Linked DNA regions of Homo sapiens: region 1 is linked to region 2. Evidence: promoter capture Hi-C in human tissues and cell types (Jung and others, 2019). All regions are on one chromosome and are shown on one strand. The core of a region is centred on a gene start or on the middle of the fragment in contact, and the rest is flanking DNA. Distances in the headings are between cores, read along the strand shown.

Region 1 (6,252 bases), core at 1,478-3,977, 820 kb after region 2:
TAATATAGACAGTAAAGCATGGTTTATGTTGTCAGTGTCTAGGCTGAGTGTTTGGGTAGGTAGTTTTGTTTTTGAATGACATCATTAAGATTAATGTGCACATAATCATAGAAATGTATCATTTAAATAATAGCAATCTGAAAACTGGATTTTTAATAGTTTGCAATGACAAATAAATGAAATAAATGCCCTCACAGTATCTCTTCAACCAACAATGGAGCAGCTTGTGCACCTACTTAACATTCACATAGTCCCTTTGGAGACCACCATATTGCCAGAAAACCAACTGAGGCCAAAGGAATTTCAAAGCTTTCTCCAAGGTTATTGAACAGGAGTAGATTAGACATATTACTGCTGCTTTTTTAAAATATAGATTCTGACCAGCCAGGCTCAGATGGGGAACATAAAGAAAAGAGAAAGATACAAAACTAATATTCCATAGAGTTATAAAAATTTAATTTACCAGCCCAGAAATGAGAAATATTTGTTAAATTATTTGAGAAGATATGTAATCATTATTTTAATTTTAATTTTGAGTAACTCACTTTTCTATATATGCTCTATATGCTCTCACAAATTTAATGGAAATAAATAATGGACATTAGTTATCACATAGTTTCCATAGTTGAAGTGTATGGGCATGGCAAAACTGGGTCTACTACTGGGGCATTCATCACTGCAATAAGGTGTCAGGGCTGGGGACTCATCTGAGGTTCTAGGTCATCTCCAAGCTCCAAGCTTACACAGTATTGGTAGAATGAATTTCCTCAAAGCCTTATATATCAGAGAAGAGTTTTGCTTCTTCAAAGACAGCAGAAAAAAATCTCTGATTTTCAGACTGTCTTTTAAAGGGCTAGCCTGATTAGGTCAAGCCTAAGGAGGATAATTTACTTTCTATTAACTTAAAGTCAACTTATTAGGGGCCTTTATTAAATTTTCAAAATCCTTTTACCTTGGCTATACTCCAACAAAACATGGTCACAGGAGTGCTATTGCTTCACCTTTGTCATATTCTATTGGTTAAAACCAAGTTAGACTGCACACAGTGGCTCAAGCCTATAATCCCAGCACTTTGGGAGGCTGAGACGGACAGATCACAAGGTCAGGAGATCGAGACTATCCTGGCCAACTTGGTGAAACCCTGTCTCTACTAAAAACACAAAAATTAACTGGGTGTGATGGCGCGTATCTGTAATCCGAGCTACTCAGGAGGCTGAGAGACGAGAATCCCTTGAATCCAGGAGGCGGAGTTTGGAGTGAGCACTGCATTCCAGCCTGGTGACACAGTGAGACTCCAACTCAAAAAAATACAGGACTGTTCATTTAAGAGAAACACTGGAGTCATGTTACAGTTTGGCCTATCACAAAAATCGTTACTGCTTTTAAAGTATTTATTAGAAAGGTATAACTTATTCAAGATAAGCTATTAGCCATGACTTATATATATATATATATATATTTAAATAAATTTTGATTTATTTTCCTATTATATCAAGGGACTACTTCTAGGACACAACTTCAGCTTTGTAATTCCTGACTAGTTTAATGGGTTGAATTATCCAGATTTCTTTCATTCTCTTTTTTTTTTTTTTTTGACGGAGTTTCGATCTTGTTGCTCAGGCTGGAGTGCAATGGTATGATATCAGCTTACCACAACCTCCACCTCCAGGGTTCAAGCGATTCTCCTGCCTCAGCCTCCCAAGTGGCTGGGATTACAGGCACGTGCCACCATGCCTGGCTAATTTTGTATTTTTAGTAGAGATGGGGTTTCTCCTTGTTGGTCAGGCTGGTCTTGAGCTCCTAACCTCAGGTGATCCACCGGCCTTTTCCTCCCAAAGTGCTGGGATTACAGGCATGAGTCACTGCGCACGGCCCCAGATTTATTTCTTTTTCACTGTAGTAGTGAGTCAGACACATTAGTATAAACTGTTTCAAGAACACATTGGTCTATATTGAGTACAAGTTACTGTAATGACTCACAGGGGTCTATCCTACCTTTAGAAAGCAAAGTAATTTTTCATAATGGGCAAATGCATGAATTAATAATTTTTGATGGTTTTATACAATGCTACTATGAATATTTTCACATATGTGTAACCACTTTTATAGGTGATACCTGGGAGTGGAATACTTGCGTCTCAGAATATATACATATTCACACTCATCAAATATGCAAATAGTACTCCAAGGTTGTTAATCCAATTATAACTCAACTAGTGATGCATAAAAGTTCTCACTACTCTACATGCCCCCACAACCTTTGGCTTTGCAGAATTTCTTGTCTTGTCAACTTAAATGTTATGGGTATTTCTTGGCATATCCTTGATTGTTAGATTCTATTTTCTCTGTTTTTAATGATATTAAGCATTATGTTTCTCATTTTATATTTATATTTGAGAACTGCCTATTTAAGTCTTTTGCCCATTCATTTACACAATTCTCTATGTTTCTCTGTATTGGGAGATGTGAGCCTTTTATGTATTATCTATCAAAAATTTAACTGCTTACATGTATGGCATGCATTATCCCTAGCTGGTGATTTAGATTTACTATTCTACTTATATTTTCGTTGAAAAAGATTTTTTTTCTAACTTTTAAGGTAATATAGTCAAATTTGAAATATTTTTCTCCATAGTGATTTTGTGTTTGCTGAAAAACAGAAAAAAGACCTGTCCCTGGCCAGGCACGGTGGTTCACGCCTGTAATCCCAGCACTTTGGGAGGCCGAGGTGGATGGATCACAAGGTCAGGAGATCGAGACCATCCTGGCTAACACACAGTGAAACCCCGCCTCTATTAAAAATACAAAAATTTAGCCGGGCATGGTGGCGGGTGCCTGTAGTCCCAGCTACTCAGGAGGCTGAGGCGGGAGAATGGCATGAACCCAGGAGGCGGAGCTTGCAGTGAGCCGAGATCACACCACTGCACTCCAGCCTGGGTGACAGAGCGAGACTGTCTCAAAAAAAAAAAAAGACCTGTTCCCTGTCCCCCTTTAAGTCATGTCAATTGTGTTTTATTTATTTAAAAGATTATTTCACTTTTAACACTTAGATCTTTAATCTACTGAAATTATTTTACTGTAAAAGTGAAAGTGTAGTTCATTTATTTTCATACGGATTCCCAATTCAATAAACACCATTAGTGAAACTTCTATAATATACACTACTCTTTTTGAAAACCACCCTTTTCTATATATTACGTGACCAGATGGCTTAGTCCTTTTGGGCCACTATAACAAAATACCATAAACGGAGTGACTTTTAAACAACAGAACTTTATTCCATACAGTTCTGGAGGCCAGGAATGCCAAGATAAAAGCATCACCAGATTCAATGTCCGATGAGGAATTTCTGATTCATAGACAGTATTTGGTAGCTGTGTCTTCACAATGCGAAGGGGTGAATTAGCTCTCTGGTGTCTATAAGTGCACTATTCCCATTATAAGAGTCCTAATCCCATGACCTAGTCACTCCCCAATGCCTTTACATCTTAATACTATTACCTTGGGATTAGATTTCAACACTGAAAATTTGAGGTAGATACGAACGTTCATACAACAGCACAGACGTGAGAGTATATTTTTATATACTTTTTAATCTATGCTAATGTTAGTACCATACCTTCTTAATATAAATTTATATTAATGATTTGTTTCTAATAGAACATTTTTCCCACTTCGTTATTTTTATTCAAATTGTCGTATACATAATATAACCAATATAATAATGTCTATGAGAAAGAGTTGGAATAGTGAAAAAGCCAAATGTTATCTAATTCAAGATTTGATATGTATTTCTAAAACTGCACCGAATATATACAGATTTCTTTTCAAGAGGGAAACTACAAATAAAAAACTTAAACATTGAAGTTGTAGATACAATATTTTATAGTAAATAATTTATGTTACAGGTAATATTTGAAAATTAATGTTGGGAGAATTATACAATTGTACTAGTCTTTTTTTAACACCTACATACAAAATGATATGGGAAGAAGTTACATAAAAATTGAGTAAAAATAAAGCAACTATTTTTTCTGGTTTGCATTTTAATAATCTACTCTTAATTATTCATACATACACTTATTTTAAATCTCTTCAATTTAATTTAATTTTATGATTTTTACATATACTTATTAAATTTTTTTTATAAAAAGTACTGTTAAGGCAACATTATATATTTGTAAGGTGAAAAACATTTGCTTTTGCATGTTCATTAGCCACCAGAAATTCTTCTCTTGCATTAACTCATAAACTTCTCACAATAAATGTTTGAAGTCTGAATTCTCATTACCATTTAAAATAATAATATTGAAGTACACGGGAGTTAATTAAATTGCTAAGTTTTATATGAATGTTTTAGTGCAGATCTGTGATTCACGCTAAGGTCTTTTTATCTGCATTTTGTACTTTTTGCCTTAGTAACCATCTAACCAAAAAAAAAAAAATGCTGCATTTAAAATATTTGTTTTTTCAGTATTTATATCTACAAAAAGCAATATTGTTTTTATTTTTGTATTTTTAACATAACTATTTTTTTGTTTTTCTTAACCTAGGATCTGTGACTCAATTTTTTTTTCAGCTTTTATTTTAGGTTCAGAGGTACATGTGCAGGTTTATTAATACAAGCAAACTCATGTTATGGCGGTTTGTTATACAGAACGTTTTGTCACCAAGGTACTAAGCATAGTACCCAATAGTAAGTTTCCTGATCCTCTCCCTGCTCCCAATCCCCTCCCTCAAATAGGTCTCAGTGTTGGCTGTTTCCTTTTTCATGCCCATTGGTTCTCATTATTTAGCTCCCACTTATAAGTTAGAACATACATATTTTTTTTTCTGTTCCTCCATTAGTTTACTAACAATAATGACCTCCAACTCCATCCATGTTCTTGCAAAGGACATGATCTCATTCTCTTTTATGGCTGCATAGTATTTCATGACGTATATGTACCACATATTCCTTATCCAGTCTACCATCAATGGACATTTAGGTTGAGTCCATGTCTTTGCCGTTGTGAATAGTGCTACAATGAACATATGTGCACATGTGTCTTTATGGTGCAATTTTTTTTTTTTGAGATAGACTCTCACTCTGTCACCCAGGCTGGAGTGCAGTGGCTCAATCTCGGCTCACTGCAACCTCTGCTTCCTGAGTTCAAGTGATTCTCCTGCCTCAGCCTCCCAGGTAGCTGGGATTACAGGTGCCCACCACCATGCTCGGCTAATTTTTTAAATTTTATTAGAAACGAGGTTTCACCATATTGACCAGGTTGATCTCAAACTCCTGAACTTGTGATTTGCCCGCCTCATCCTCCCAAAGCGCTGGAATTACAGGTGTGGGCCACTGTGCCTGGCTATTGTATAATGTTTTGTATTCTTTTGGGTATATACCCAGTAATGAGATTTCTGGGTCAAATGGTAACTTTATTTTTAGTTATTTGAGAAATAACCACCCTGCTTTCCACAATAGTTGAACTAATTTACACTCCCACCAGCAGTGTGTAAGTGTTCCCTTTTCTCTATAACCTTGACAGAAACTGTTATTTTTTTGACTTTTTAAAAAATAGCTATTCTGACTGGTATGAGATGGTATCTCATTGTGATTTTGATTTGTATTTCTCTAATGATTAGTGATATAGAGCATTTTTATATGCTTGTTTGCTACATTTATATCTCCTTGTGAAAAGTGTCTATTCTTATCCTTTGCCTACTTTTTAATGGAGAATTGTTATTTGCTTATAAATTTAAGTTCTTTACATATTTTGGATATGAGACCTTTGTCAAATGCATAGGTTGCAAATATTTTCTCCCATTCTGAAGATTATGTGTTTACTCTCTTGATAGTTTGTTTTGCTATGCAGAAGCACTTTAGTTTAATTAGATCTCATTTGTCAATTTTTACTTTTGTTGCAATTGCCTTTGGTGTCTTTGTCATGAAATCTTTGCCAGTTTTTATGTCCAGAATGATTATTCCTTTCAGGGTTTTTATAGTTTTAGGTTTTACATTTTAGTCTTTATTTTGAGTTGATTTTTGTATATTGTGTAAGGAAGGGGTTCAGTTTCAATCTTCTGCAGATGGCTAGCCAGTTATCTCAACACCATTTATTGAATATGGCAGAGTCCTTGCCTCATTGCTTGTTTTTGTCAGGTTTGCCAAAGATCAGATGTGTGGCCTTATTTCTGGGGTCTCTATTCATTTGTATTGCTCTATGTGTCTGTTTTGGTACCACTTTCATGCTGTTTTGGTTACTGAAG
Region 2 (6,276 bases), core at 3,509-6,008:
TTTAGAGAGATCAGCTCACAAGAACAATTCCAAGGGTTTTCCTCCAGCTGTAGCTCCACAACTTTATCCATGTGCTGCAAGAGCCCCACGTAGGGCAGAAGTTTCAGCCGGTTCCCCCGGAGGTCCAAGTGCGTTAAGGGCACAAAACGGAAAAGATTGTTGGGTAAACTGGACAAAAGATTGTCATTGAGGATAAGCACCTGCAACAAATGCAGTTTCCCAAAAGCATTGGGTTCAATGACGCTGATGTAGTTGTAATCGACCTGTAGGTACTCCAGGTTCTCCAAGCCAAGGAAGGTATCATCTCGCAGAAGTTCCAGTTTATTATTGTTTAGATGCAATCTCCTCAAACCCCGTAGCCCATGGAAAGCCCCGGTCTCAATGTCCTGGATAACATTGCTACCTAGATGCAAAATTGAAGCCCCAGTGTAATTGACAAACTCATTGGGATAGAGACGGTTCAAAAGGTTTCCGGACAACAAGAGGTGGTAGATTGGGAAACGGGGAGGGCTAATTTCAGAGAGACTGATGATCCCCCGGTTTTCACAGCTCACAGTTAAAATGCCGTCCTTTTCCTCACAAGGACATGCATTGTCACAGATTTCCCCATAATAATCGATGGTTTCTGCACACGAAAGGACGAGAGATGTTACAGCAAACGCTAGAGTCTGCAGCATCCAGCTATGCATTTTTCTGTGAAGGTCCTGTTCCAAAGTTACTGGGGGGCAGCAAGTGTGCATTTTACCTCCTGTAAGGGAGAGAGAAAACAAGGAAATAACAGAATATGACAAAAATTTAAGGGATCAGTCAGAAAGTCTCTCTCTTTCTTAACATTATTACTCTAAAACCCAAAAGGAAGAGATACAAATGACACACCTCCCCAAGTGAAACATTGACATTCTCTAGATTTTATTAAAATCTATTATACATTTTGATTTAAAGGTTGATTAATTTTTTTAAATGAGCACACCACAAATATGCTGCTCCTTACAAGATAAGAGCAGGTTAGATAAAGTCCCATTTTAGTTTTCTCTTCTCCCCCCCTTTTCAAAACCAATCCATAAATATACATAAAATGGCTGTCAGTTCAGTTTCATGGTTCTAATTTAAGAAAAAAGAAGCACCATTTTACAAGGTTCCCCACCTCACCTATACCCAGCCCCCACCCCCCCTTCTTTCTTTCAGAGCCTCTTCAGTTAACAGTTCACCGTGAAGGTCTCTCATGTTCACAGAGAGGCAAGGAGCCAAAATACTTGGGGTATTTTAAACCATCGCTAGAAATGCCACGGTGGGAACCTAAAGGATACTTTTCAGAGGCAAAAAGGCTGTAATATAATGCATCAAAGGAGCCCCAAGAAGCTCTTAAATCACCAATTGTCTCCCGGAGCTTTGAGTAAGGAGAAAAAAGGAGAGCGCATTTGCTTTGATGGTGGACTTCACTACCACGCTATTAAAGCACATCAGCGTCCTAATTGCATGCACGGTACCACTTAGCAGCGCTTCCCGGAGAGCGCCCTGCGACCACTTCTCATTGATCATGTCAGCGACGCTACCAAACCGCATCTTTAAGCCACTGAAATAGTTCTGCACGATGGATTACAAAGAACTCAGCGAAGGTATCCGCAATCTCCGAATACCTCCCGATGCCTAGAGTTTAAAAAGGACGTTCCTACCGCTTACCGGGAATCAGTACACCAAGGATCAGCACGAAAGCCTCCCTTACCTTGGGCTCCGCGTCTATTTGCAACGGTAATAGCAAGGTTTGCACGGAACTACCACCTCGACAGCATCCCCATCTTTGGAGTTGCTTATTACATTTAATTGTTAACGCTCCCCTCTCTCTTTTTTTTAATCTCAGGGAAAGGACGCCTGGGCTGATTAAGAGGCAAAATAGAAAGGTGGGAGGAAGAACTGTAAGCGACTTAGGTCAGTTGTTTAATATCCGAATTTCATCTCCCACAGGAATCAATATGACCCCCTCCCCCTTTTTTTTCTTGCTCTCTTTTTGTCCCCTTGAAGGCTTCCTTCCACTTCCTACTTCTGATCAACAGCAGCACTCTTAAAGGAAGGACATAAATGGAATGAGCGTGTGTGTGTGTGTGTGTGTGTGTGTGTGTGTGTTTGTGTGTGCGCGCGCGCGCATGCTGCGTTGGTTAATGGGGTGGAGGACATTTGATAGAAATGCTGGACTCTAGGAACCTATGCCTTTTCTCTGGTCAACCTTGCCTTTGCCTCACTACCGAAGTCTAATATCGAATTGCAACTCCAAACTAAAGCCAAGATGTTTCCGAGACAGCGGGTTCAAGCCTGGAGACCTTGCTCCTGATCCCCAAGTCGACTCCAGCCCGCGTTATTAAACGCCCCTGCATTCAAACGCACATGTATCAGTGTGCCTGCGAATCATTCACGTGTGGCCACCCAGACGTGTCGAGATGAATTGGAACCACAGTGCATAAACCTCGCAAGTATCCCCGACCTCCCAACGCAACGGTAAACGTCTCCCGGCTTAAAAGCGGCAAAAACATCCCCACCCCAGTGAAAGCAAAACGTTTACCTTGAAATTTCAGTTCTCCGCTGGATCAAATCCGCACATCCATTCAGCGAGGTTGGGTCCCCTCCCCCTCCCTCCCTGTGCTTCCCCGCCCCCATTCACCTCCCACCCCATCTGAAAGCCCATTGCAAATTCAGTCCAGCCAGTATTAAACTCCAGCGTTTACAACTTTAATTCAGTTCTAGTTAGCAAGGGTCGAAGAGCTTCCTCTCAACCCACTCCCTTCCCCCTCCTCCTTGCTAGCAAAGGAGACCAAAAATTTGAGAAAATAAAGTTGAATGAGCCTGGGGAGGCTGACATTCTGACGGGGAAACGCACCTCCGATGCAAATTCGCGGGTGCGCTGAACATTCTCAGATTCTCAGATTTTTTTTTTTCCTGGAGGGCGGGGGCGGGGGAACTATTCATTTTCTCCCAAAGAATTTAGATACTGGATCACCGCCCTGTACGTCCCTGCAGTAAGCAGCATGGAGCCTCTCGGACTGGAGCCCAGCACCCAGGCCGCACCGGAGGCTCCGGGCACAGCTGCTCAAGCAGCAGCCCAGGCAGAAGCACCCGGAGTTCCAGGACGCGAGGCTCCCCCTCCCCCACCCCGCCCCAAAGAGAAGGAAGGGAAAACGGAGGAAGAAGGGGAGGGAGGAGAGGGAAGGAAAACCACCCCGCCACATAGACACACACACACACACACACACACACACACACACACACACACACACACACACACCTCTTTTGCAAAGTAAACGATAGACTTACCCAGTCTCACATCTCCAAGGCCCAGTCATCATAGCCACCCTTTAAAAACACACACATACACAAAAACCCTCTTTGGGGTATGCACTAGGTTTCTCAAGCCCAGGCAGGGCGAGGAGACTGCGAGCAGCGCAGTCCCAGAGGCTGGAGGAAAGAGGCGCCCGGACGCCTCCAGCCTGGGGCCGCCGCCGCGGTGGCGACCGCGGGTTCCGGGGCTCCCCAAAAGGCTCTCCCCGGTGCTCTCCGCGGTAGTCGGAGCGGGCAGCAGGGTTGGGGGGTGGAGAGCGGGGGGCGTTCTGCAGCGGCGGGATAGGGAGGCGGCGGGAGGGGGCGGCGGAGGTCCGGCTGGAGAGGCGCCTCGCGGTAGGGGCCGGGAGCCGGAGCCGGGCGGGGCGGGGAGGGGGAGCTGCTGGGAGGGGAGGCACGGAGCGGGAGGAGGGGGACGCGGAGAAGACTGCCTGGCCCCGCCGGCCCCGCCAACGTGACGGTCAGCCCCGCCGAGCGCTCGCACCCGCTCACACTCATGATCACTCGCACACTCGCTCCAATACGTGTTAAGGCGCGATCGCGGGGTCCCTGGCAGCCTTCGCTGCACCCTCCCCCCCACAGGGGTACTCACAGTTGCCATCTGCATAGGGGGCAACTTTCTCCGACCCAGCTGTGGCCGCCGCCCCCTCCAGCCTCCTCTGGCTCCTCGCACCCTCCGGCCTGGGTTCGCGCCGGCCGGCCCTCCCCTCCCCCCTCGGCTCTCCTCCTCGCCGTCTTCACCACATTCCCCCCTGGTCAGTGGCGCACGCCGGGGGACGAGCCAGAGGGAGCGGGTCGCGGGGGTGTGCATGCATCTCCCGCCTTCTTCTTGCAGCGCACACTGTACATGGTAGTGAGGGGGCGAGCAAAGGTGGCACCGGCCCCTCGGCTGCTCCAGCGAAGGCGGCGGCTGCAGCTCCTGCGCTGTCCTCCGCCCCCCAGCGCAGCGGCGACCACCGCGCTGGGATCCCGCCGACGCTGTCTCCGCGCCGAGCCCGCCGCCGCCGCGGCCCCTAATTAGTATTTGAGAGGCTCTTGCATCCCTTTGGCAGTTTCATCCTCACGGTGTTTGCAGGGTTTTTTTCTGTATCCCTTCCCCAGATGCGGCGCACAATCGTCATTAGTTGGAACTCTCTATCACCGACATCCTTTGGGGTTTCTGGGGGAAGGGGGGGGCGGGCAGCAACCGCGTCGTTCTATGCCTGTGGCTTGTCCTGGCAGCCCGGTGGCTCTAAAAAAAACTCCGAGAAAGTTGCGTCTTCCTCCCGGGCGCCGAGGAGGTGGCAACGCGGTAAGCAACACCGGGTCTCTGAGACAGCTGCTCCGGAGCGGGTGCAGGGCCCAGTCCAGTGCACTTGTTTATTGTCGCGCCTCTGGTGCGAGCCAAGCTGCAGCAGACATGATGGGCCCGGGGCGAAGCGGGCGCTCGGTGGCCGATAGATGGCAGCCGAGGGCGAAGGCGTCCCTGGGCTAGGGCGGCGCAACCGGGGCCCCCTTGGATGTCACATTCGTAGGAAGAGAGAGAAGTCTTGGACCATGTGTGTAATTCGAGCGTGGGACTGTGCAATTCTCGGATTGGGAAAGGGAGGAGTGGAAATAACCCCGGCAGTGCCAGGCTTGCTGGTGGTCAGGAACAGATGATTCCAGCCCTGTGCTGATCGCCTGCCTTCCTCCTGCCATTCAGAATGCTGCTGTCTCGTGTACTTACTGTTAAGGATCCTGGAAAAGGGAGTGGTTCCTCCTAGCTGCAAACAAGGGCGCTACTTTTCTTTTCTCTTTAATAGAATTACGTTTTATAGGTGTGTCTAGGCAACACAAGGGAATGTGAAAGACTTTCAGAGGGAATGTTTGTGAATACATCTGGTGTGTACTAAAAAGCTGGAAAACCCCTAAGTAAATGCAATATCGATAGAAAGCGAGTTTCTTGAAGAGTCATCTGCTAAACTCCACTAGAGTCATCTCTACAGTAAGTATTCTTGGGTCTTTCCATGAAACCAGACACTTCCATCCCCAAAAAGGGGTCTTTACTTTCATAAGACATGTTTTCAATATTTGTAATATTAGACCTGCCGTTCATCCCGGGTATAAGAGAAAAGTTGATAATAGTAAGTGACCCAGTGCAGGCTGAGTGCACATGTGCCTGTTCCTTTGATAACTATGTAGTTAGTTTCTCCATGTAAATATATTTTACCCACTTTATTTTGCAATTAATTACGTCTTAATTATTATTGATATTGTTTTATTCTTAGTAATATTTGGGATAATACTGTGTTATAATCTGGTTAATCATATGTTTAATATTGATATAGAGTCTGATAATATGTCTATGTTCTGAGATGTATATATATCTCAGGTGATGAACATTGCAGTCTCCTGAGGTACTGCAATCTTTTTTGAACTTTCCCCTGCGTATGTTGTGTGAATATATATATTTTTACTTTATACCATAAAAACTTTATTTGGAAGCAATTTTGTTTAAGTATGGGTTATATTCAAGGGAGAGGAAGGAAAGAAGTAATATGTAATTTCAGACAATAAAAACAAAATCTTGTAATGAACGTTTCATTAAATTTAGAAGCATTTGACCTAGGAATGATAGCCACTAGCTGTAGATACATTGCATCAACAAATATAACTTACACGTCATCCACAAAAGGCTTATTTCTGTATTTTTTATTCAGTCATTAACTTTTAACATTATATAAACATTTCAGAAAATTTATTTTAAGTTTAAAATTACTTTTATATTTTCAAAATGAAATGAAATATTTAAATTTAAAATTATATAGGAATTACAGCCAGAAGCCTTTGGAATATAAATATTGAGTCCTATCAGAAACATAATTTTCAATATCGATTAACTTTGTAGAAGTTCTTAAAGGTCCTAAATTGTCTTAATCGATTATTGATTTTTTCAAAATAGCTGAAATAAAGCTGTTATATTTTATC

What was found. The method cuts DNA at HindIII sites, captures the fragments that hold promoters and counts their contacts. A contact is called where the count stands out against the background at its distance.
Region 1: a contact is called between a fragment that was not itself captured here and the fragment with the promoter of SLITRK5 in region 2, in 1 of the 25 tissues and cell types used here (dorsolateral prefrontal cortex).

Annotation. Positions count from the first base shown.
Region 1 is chr13:86,852,202-86,858,453 of GRCh38, reverse strand. The region is part of intron 2 of LOC105370300 (a long non-coding RNA gene); the gene reads right to left. Among named protein-coding and RNA genes, the nearest start is that of LINC00430, 54 kb to the left of the region's middle. The HindIII fragment of the contact is 4,406 bases long and covers 525-4,930 here.
Region 2 is chr13:87,669,853-87,676,128 of GRCh38, reverse strand. It overlaps SLITRK5 (SLIT and NTRK like family member 5), which reads right to left and starts at 4,758. Exons shown (of 2, transcript NM_001384609.1): 1 at 3,920-4,758; 2 at 1-748. The coding sequence starts at 740. LOC124900338 (formin-like protein 5) reads left to right here and starts at 3,762. Exons shown (of 2, transcript XM_047430855.1): 1 at 3,762-5,293. The coding sequence starts at 3,824. The coding sequence ends at 4,348. It overlaps MIR4500HG (MIR4500 host gene), which reads left to right and starts at 5,166. Exons shown (of 6, transcript NR_033829.1): 1 at 5,166-5,293. RefSeq lists enhancers at 906-2,105, 4,530-5,031. The HindIII fragment of the contact is 26,915 bases long and covers 1-6,276 here.